Regions from separate parts of the Homo sapiens genome. Here regions 1 and 3 are each linked to region 2. The links are contacts of gene promoters, found by promoter capture Hi-C in human tissues and cell types (Jung and others, 2019). All regions are on one chromosome and are shown on one strand. The core of a region is centred on a gene start or on the middle of the fragment in contact, and the rest is flanking DNA. Distances in the headings are between cores, read along the strand shown. Region 1 overlaps RAD50 (RAD50 double strand break repair protein). Region 2 holds the start of LEAP2 (liver enriched antimicrobial peptide 2). Region 3 overlaps RAD50 (RAD50 double strand break repair protein).

Region 1 (2,931 bases), core at 424-2,923, 280 kb before region 2:
TATTTGTTATTTTGTTTGCATCATATTCTCTACTTGAATTGTTTTAATTTTTGGTTGGACTCCATTTTGGCATATTTTTCTATTAGTGTTAGGATAAAATCTGCTACAAGGCAGAAAAACCTTTATTGAAGCAAATGTTCTTAAGTGTATAAAGATAAAAATATGAAGAAAATGTAAACCTACATTTTTTATTTGGTTTTAAGTAAAAATTTTTAAAAACTAATTGCAGAGAAAACATTTGCTCACAGTTAATGATTATCTCTGGGTAATGGTTTTGATTGTTTTTAAAATACAGTCTTGAACCACATGTTTTGGTCAGTGATAGACCACATATTTGACATTGGTCCCATAAAATTATAATACTGTATTTTACTGTATGTTTTCTGTGTTTAGATATGTTTAGATACATAAATACTTATCATCATGTTACAGTTGCCAAAGTATTCAGTACAGTAATATGCTGTATAGGTTTGTAGCCCATAAACAATAGGCTATACCATATAGTCTATGTGTGTATTAAACTATACCATGTAGGCTTATGTAAATACATTCTGATGTTCACACAATGATAAAATTGCCTAATGATGCATTTCTTGGAATATATCCCTGCTGAGCAACACACGACTGTACTTTTTTGTATTTTCTTCAGTGTACATATATTCCTTTTGCAATTAAAAAACTTAAATTGTTTAGTAAATTATTAATGCTCATTCTTTACATATGCATTTAGAATGACTTTGCAGAAAAAGAGACTCTGAAACAAAAACAGATAGATGAGATAAGAGATAAGAAAACTGGACTGGGAAGAATAATTGAGTTAAAATCAGAAATCCTAAGTAAGAAGCAGAATGAGCTGAAAAATGTGAAGTATGAATTACAGCAGTTGGAAGGATCTTCAGACAGGATTCTTGAACTGGACCAGGAGCTCATAAAAGCTGTAAGATATTGTTTGAATAATCTAATAATTTTAAGATATAATACTTTTAGAAGTATTTTGTCTATTTTTGATCCTAAGATTATAGCATTTTAATAAAAACATCAACTTTGTCTTATTCTCATGTAAAATGAATTCATCTGAATATCTTGATCTTCTGACTCTTTGGTTCTACAACCCGATAGCCTGAAAATTAGAATCACATAGGGAGCTTTTTAAAGATACTGTACTCAGACCTTAAAGCTTCAGACCTTCCAAATCAAAATCTCTGAGAATGGGGCATAGAAATGTACATTCAAAACACAACAAAACTGGCTAATTCTTATGAGCACCTTGATTAAGAACACTTACCAGGCCGGGTGCGGTGTCTCACACCTGTAATCCCAGCACTTTGGGAAGCCAAGGCAGGCAGATAACGTGAGGTCAGGAGTTCAAGACCTGTCCAGCCAACATGGTGAAACCCCGTCTCTACTAAAAATACAAAAATTAGCTGGGCGTGGTGGCGTGTGCCTGTAATCCCAGCTACTTGGGAGGCCAGGGCAGGAGAATCGCTTGAACCTGGGAGGCAGAGGTTGCAGTGAGCCAAGATTGCGCCACTGCTCTCCAGCCTGGGTGACAGAGTGGGACTCCATCTCAAAAAAAAGAAAAAGAACACTTGCCAAAGTTTTAAAAAAGCAAGTATTTTTCCTCTAGGTCACACACGTTGTAATTCTAGATGATTTTTGCTGTATTATTACTTTTTCTGTGTTAAAAACTTTCTTAGCCAATCTTTTCAGGTATTTCCATATTTTCTTTCTTGCTTCTAGTCTGTCCTCCTTCTTCACATCTCCATTACCAAAGTAAGCATTCTAAAGCATGGCAAACTTCTTAAAGCCCATCTTGATAATTTATGTAAACATTTATTTTTGCTCCATAACTCACCATTGTAGCATACATTTTTGTCAGTTTAGCACTTCATCAGTGTTGTCTTGTTGGGGTGGGGAGATACTTGGTCAGGGACCACATCACACTATTTTTATAGTTTCTACATACCAGGCAATATAGTGAATTACATGGGGACATAATAAATATTTAATTGTTGACTGAGGACTCACTAATCTGTGTACTTAGACACATGTCTCCTAATTTTACAGTAATTCTCACATTTCTTTCCTGTTTGACCCTTCTAGGTTTATTTACTAATTCTCTACCATTATAACATAGTAAGGTCACTTTAATAAGATATACCTTAGAGCATATATAGTGCCTTATGTTTTTTTCTCTTGTTGGATGCAAACAGTAATATTTGGAACATTCTGAGGAGTAGTTAATTTCTAATACACTTTGTCATTATTTTAATTCTTGCACAAAATATATAACACCTTTGCATTTGTATGAATTATTGACTAGGAACGTGAGTTAAGCAAGGCTGAGAAAAACAGCAATGTAGAAACCTTAAAAATGGAAGTAATAAGTCTCCAAAATGAAAAAGCAGACTTAGACAGGACCCTGCGTAAACTTGACCAGGAGATGGAGCAGTTAAACCATCATACAACAACACGTACCCAAATGGAGATGCTGACCAAAGACAAAGTATGATTTTTCTTTTTGTTCTAATTATACTGTCTGGTACTTAAAATAGCCTACCTTGCACTCATAAGTCATAGACTATAAGGTATTAAGTTGGTATTGACTATATTTTAGAGGCTAAGTGAGCTTAGTACTCTATATAATAGACTTTCAAGCTTAAAAGTTATTGTTTAATTACAAAAAGTTAATACAGAAATGTATATATATGTATATACACACATGCACATTACTGTTAACTTTTAACATACACAAATTTTAAAATTTTATATTGTTCGACTTGGTACTCCACTCTTAAGGCTTAGAAAGACCATCCCCACTTGAAGACTTTAAGAACTTTAAGAAATTTTATATTTTATTTTCATATTTTTATAGTTTTAAGCTTAGAACTTTAGTCAGTCTAGAATTTATTTTTGTTCTTGATATAATGT
Region 2 (2,700 bases), core at 91-2,590:
AGAATCAGGACAGTCAGATCTGTGGTCACATCCTGCCCAATTCCAGCTCTGAGGTCCATCAAACCATCTGCTTCTCCCTTGGCAAGAAGCTCCCTCTGTCTGACTGGCAGCAGGGTCAGTGGCCATCCTTTTCTACCTTCAGCTGTTGTGCATCTCCTCCACGTTTTCCTGGAGTAAAGGAACAAGCAGGTTCTTATCCAAATACCCAACCTGTGAAGATGAGACGGCCCTTGGGAAGAGGTATTAGCCAAGTTTTCAGTATGATGCCCGGCAGAAAGAATTTGTTGTCTTTGTCTTAAGCTTATTATCCTCCCAGGTCATAGGAAGATCTAAAGTCCAATCAGTCTCCTTACTCAGAATTCACAGCTTTCCCCTCAAACTTAAAATGCCCATGTCATTTCACGAGTACCCATAACTACCCATCGTTTAGATACATGTCCTCCCTTGGTCTAGAAATCTGCAGCAGTTCCTACTTAAACTGATGGATGCTTTGGGCTTTGGAGGTATCTCATCCCTATGCCTGTTGCCCTGAAGCTGCCGGAAGGAAAGGCCCCACTCAACTACTGGGAAGAAAGCCCATAATTCAAGGCTTTTAATACAGTCACTACACAAGCTCTCCCTCTGATTTAGGAGATCTTGTTACCTCCTCATCTACATGTGCTTAAAAACAAAAAGAAACCTATAATTATTCAATTCACCTGTGGTCCAAATAAGTCTCACATCCAGCCATTCCCCTGAGAGGGCAGGAGGCCAGACTTTGAACTTTCCACAGCTGGGTCTTCATTTTACTAGTGAGATAAAGAGGTGCAGATTAGGGTGACAGTCCATCTAAGCAAGTGGACGATCTGGGGAACTGTAGGCCTTGCTGAAGCATCCTCCCACAGAAAGGAGATAAGGGCCTTATCCAATTGGCTGTACACAATAGATCAGTGCTTCTTTCCTAGACAAGGCTGAAAGGGGCCAACATTATTTCTGAAGACTTCATTATTGGAATTCTATGGGAGTGATCTCACTGAGCTATTTTGGAATAGAAATGTGGCTAGTTGCCTGACCTCCCTCAATGGTTTCACGTGGCTTTCAAAGGGAAGGAAGGGCAGTGCTGACTTTTGGTAAAATGGGCGAAAGGGTCCATGCCAGCAACACAATCACTCAAAGTCCAGATGAGGGATCAGTAAATACAACGTGCCTGAAAGGTGGCCCTTGAGCACATTCCTCCGGTAGACATTAACTTATTAAATTGATTCTGATTACAAATATAAACTTTGCCCCCATCTCACCCAGTAACAATGCAAGAGTTGATGTCAGTCTATAAAAGGAAGTAGGAACTGTCCCTGGCTTTCAGGCTCCAACATCCTCCCCCTGTCAAGATGTGGCACCTCAAACTTTGTGCAGTCCTCATGATCTTCCTGTTGCTGTTGGGCCAGGTAAGGAGGGAAGGATACTTATGTGTGTGTGTGGAGTGTGGAGATGATAGTGGTGGTGGAACTTGAAAGCTAGATTCAGTCCTGAGGAATGGTTCCTCTGTTCTGAGTCTACAGCATCTGCGGAATGGAATGATCACTCTTCCAAGGTGTGCAGCAGGGTGTCAACACTTTCATATCTGAATGTCTTTGCCCTTACAGATAGATGGCTCCCCAATACCAGAAGTGAGTTCGGCAAAGAGAAGGCCACGGAGAATGACCCCATTTTGGAGAGGGGTTTCCCTCAGGCCTATTGGAGCCTCCTGCCGGGATGATTCTGAGTGTATCACAAGGCTATGCAGGTACTCCCTGAACCTGGGAGCAGGGTTGGGCCAGAGAGCCCTGGGAAGCTGGGCAGAGGAGTGACAAGGGGACACATGAACCTAAGAATAAAGCTGGGATGGAGGAGTTCTAGACTGAGACTGGGAGCTCCATGGAAAATCCCTTAGGAGTTAGGAGCCAAGAACAGCTCTATGTGGGTACCATGAAAGAGTGGTGCCTTTCCATTCTTCAGTCTTTCCTGAGACTGGACAGATCAAGCAAAGAGGAAGGAAATGCAGCATAGGTGGCCCTGGTCATTCCTAGACCCAGTCTTAAAAAACTACCCTTTCTTTTCCCCTAGAAAAAGACGCTGTTCCTTAAGTGTGGCCCAGGAATGATGTACATACCAGGGAAAGAAAGGACAGCAGTCACCTCCGACAATGCTCCGTTCTATGGAATATTGATTAACTGCATTTTGGCTGGAGACACCCAAGTGAAGCAATCTTGTATTTTTAATATTTAAAGGCAGATGTACGCTTTAAATTGGTCTCCATTTCTTCTTAGAATGTTGATATATGGATAAGCATAACTAAACTTGTCAATTTAGAGTTTATTTTTCTATGGATACTATTAAATGTCTCAAATTGAAATTTTAGCAGTCTGGAATTCAAGCTTTTGAGGGAAAGAAGGATTCATTTTGTATACTAAAGAAAAAAACAGCATTGCCCAATAATGTGTTAACTTCTCAATCTGGAAAGTGTAGTGAGAGCTACATAATCAATAGCTACGTAATCAACTTCAGCAAGTTCCTAAGCTGTGGCCCTGGATCCCTTCACTCCATACTCTTCAGGGAGGTGTCAAAGGTGGTCAAGCTTGGGAGGCTGAGGCAGGAGAATCACTTGAACCTGGGAGGTGGAGGTTGCAGTGAGCCAAGATCATGCCACTGCACCCCAGCCTGGGTGACATAGAGAGACTCTGT
Region 3 (3,006 bases), core at 258-2,757, 300 kb before region 2:
TTTGACATGCTTTTCTCAACTAAGCTTAATCATTTCTAGTTTTTGATTTAAAACGAGATGTTTGACTCTTCTTTCGCTTAAACACTTAGGGGCTGTTGTAGGGTTACTAATTGGCCTAATTTCCATATTATTGTGTCTCAGGCAATCAGGTTCCAAGGAGAGGGAGAGAGACGGGAATGGCAGGTCAGTAAAGCAGTCAGGACACACACGTTAATGGATTAAGTTCACCTCTTATATGTGGATGGTTTGTGGCACACAAACAATTACAGTAGTAACATCAAAGATCACTTATCACAGATCACTATAACAGATACAATAATAATGAAAAAGTTTGAAATATTGTGAGAATTACCAAAATGTGACACAGAGACACAAAGTGAGCACATGCTGTTGGAAAAATGGCACCGATAGACTTGTTAGATGCAGGGTTGCCACAAACCTCTGAAGAGCACAATAAGATGGGGTATGCCTGTATTTGATAGCTGTCATAATAATAATTCATTCAGGTAAGAAACAGTAGATGCTAAAACTAATGGAAGAAAGTTTGATGAAGTATGAGATAGTTGTATGGTCTCTGCATCTCTCCCTCAAATTATTAATTAATTGTAAAGAAAAATTTTTTGGTGAAGCTAGGAGATACACCTTTATCAAGAGATTGAAGTTAGTCTAGGCAACATGGTGAAACCACATCTCTACAAAAACTACAAAAATTGGCGGGGTGTGGTGGCATGCACCTATAGTCCCAGCTACTTGGGGGGCTGAGGTAGGAGGATTGCTTATGACTCAGAGGTCGTGGATGCAGTGAGCTGTGTTCATGCCACTGCACTCCAGCCTGGATGACAAAGTGAGACCCTGTCTCAAAAAAATAAATAAAGGGATTGAAGTTAATACCCTCCGTAATGAGATAAATGGAAATGATGTCCTGTCTGATGAGATGCAGTAAAAGGAACTCATCATCGCTTGTATAATATTCTTGCCAAAGATACATAACCTGATTCTAGTCGTGAGGAAATATTACCCAAATTTTGGGAGGTATTCTGCAAAATAATGGTCTGTACTTTTCAAAATTATCAGTCATGAAAGTCAAGGAAAATCTGAGCAACTATTTCAGGCTGAAAGAAAGTAAAGAGACATAACCACCAAATACAAAGTGTAATTCTGAACTGAATCCTTTTGCTCTAAAGGACGTACTGGGACAAGTGAATTAGGCTGTAGAAAAAGAAAAAAACAATCAGTATAATTTGCCACAGTAATAGAATAAAGAAGAAAAATCATATGAGCATCAATAGATACAGAAAAAGCTTTTCAATTTAATACTCATTCATGATAAAAACTCTCAGCATAACTAATGGATGAATAGTTATTCATTCCTGATTAATTCAGTCCAAAAGCCATTAGGTAGGACTGAGTGAGGAAGGCATCCACAGAAGTACCCTAGGGATGAATAGATGATAGAATTAGTAGATAAGAACCTTAAAATCTTATTATAAATCTTATAACTATGTTCATAGATATAAATAAAAACATAAAAATAAAAACATGAGAAAAATGGAGGACAATAACCAAAAAACCCTAAATAAAGTAAAAGGAATAACAGTGTTTTTATATATAATAGTACAGATGGGTTTAAAACAAAAGGATGGAAAAAATATACCGTGCCAGCTAATGAAAAGAATGCTGAAGTGACCATATTAATATAAGACAGAAGACATCAGAAAAAATAGGTGATTATATGATATTTGAATGTCTGTTCATTGTTGGTCTTTTAGGTCTTATAAGATGATGGTCATTTTCTACTACTTTAAGGGAGCATATTAAATTTTTTTCAACAGACTTTAAACTTTATTTTGTAGATCAGCTTCGGGTTTATAGCAAAATTGAGCAGAAAGTACAGTTTCTGTATATTCCCTGCCTGTACACACACAACCTCCTCTACTATCAGCATCTAACTTTTTGTAGATACTTTGCCTCATTCAAATAATCCAGGGTAATCTTTCTATTTTAAAGTCAAGTGATTGACACCCCAGTTCCATCTGTAATGTTAATTCTCTTTTGCTGTGTAATGTAACATTCACAAATTCAAGGGATTAGAATGTGGACATCTTTGGAGAACCATTATTTTATATGCCACAGCTGAGTTAATGGTAACTTATCACATTTTGGAACAACTGGCAAAACTTGAATGGGATTTGTGGACCATGTGGTAATAATATATCAGTATCAGTTTCCTGATTTTTGTTGTTGAAAATGTCCTTGTTTTGTAGGAAATACTGGTGTTGGGACATCAGATCAGCAACTTACTCTCATGTGGTTTGGGGGGCAGGAAAGCTATGTATACTGTAGTTCTGTGTATTACTCCATTTTCACACTGCTGTTAAAGACATACCCAAGACTGGGCAATTTACAAAAGAAAGAGGTTTAATGGACTTACAGTTCCACGTGGCTGGGGAGGCCTCACAATCATGGTGGAAGGTGAAAGTCATGTCTCACATGGTGGCAAATGAGAGCTTGTGCAGGAAAATTCCCCCTTATAATGACCATCAGATCTCGTGAGACTTACTATCATGAGAACAGCACAGGAAAGACCTGCCCCCGTGATTCAATTATCTCCCACCTGGTTTCTCCCACAACACATGGGGATTCAAGATGAGATTTGAGTGGAGACACAGCCAAACCATATGATTCCACCCCTGGCCCCTCCCAAATCTCATGTCCTCACATTTCAAAACCAATCATGCCTTCCCAACAGTCCCCCAAAGTCTTATTTTAGCATTAATTCAGAAGTCCACAGTCCAGAGTCTTACCCAAGATAAGGCAAGTCCCTTCTGCCTATGCGCCTGTAAACTCAAAAGCAAGTTAGTTACTTCTTAGATACAATGGGGATACAGGCATTGGGCAAATACAGCCATTCCAAATGGGAGAAATTGGCCAAAACAAAGGGGCTACAGGCCCCGTGCAAGTCCGAAATTCAGTGGGGCAGGTGTATCTTAAAGCTCCAGAATGATC

Evidence for each region. Contacts are between HindIII fragments. The study calls those that stand out against the background at their distance.
Region 1: a contact is called between a fragment that was not itself captured here and the fragment with the promoter of LEAP2 in region 2, in 1 of the 25 tissues and cell types used here (mesenchymal stem cells).
Region 3: a contact is called between a fragment that was not itself captured here and the fragment with the promoter of LEAP2 in region 2, in 2 of the 25 tissues and cell types used here (lymphoblastoid cells and mesenchymal stem cells).

What each region holds. Positions count from the first base shown.
Region 1 is chr5:132,588,901-132,591,831 of GRCh38, forward strand. It overlaps RAD50 (RAD50 double strand break repair protein), which reads left to right. Exons shown (of 25, transcript NM_005732.4): 9 at 731-937; 10 at 2,324-2,506. Among named protein-coding and RNA genes, the nearest start is that of RAD50, 33 kb to the left of the region's middle. The HindIII fragment of the contact is 3,171 bases long and covers 89-2,931 here.
Region 2 is chr5:132,872,328-132,875,027 of GRCh38, forward strand. LEAP2 (liver enriched antimicrobial peptide 2) reads left to right here and starts at 1,341. Exons shown (of 3, transcript NM_052971.3): 1 at 1,341-1,424; 2 at 1,623-1,762; 3 at 2,083-2,700. The coding sequence starts at 1,368. The coding sequence ends at 2,119. The HindIII fragment of the contact is 2,304 bases long and covers 1-1,346 here.
Region 3 is chr5:132,570,859-132,573,864 of GRCh38, forward strand. All of the region lies in intron 2 of RAD50 (RAD50 double strand break repair protein), which reads left to right. Among named protein-coding and RNA genes, the nearest start is that of RAD50, 15 kb to the left of the region's middle. The HindIII fragment of the contact is 7,396 bases long and covers 1-3,006 here.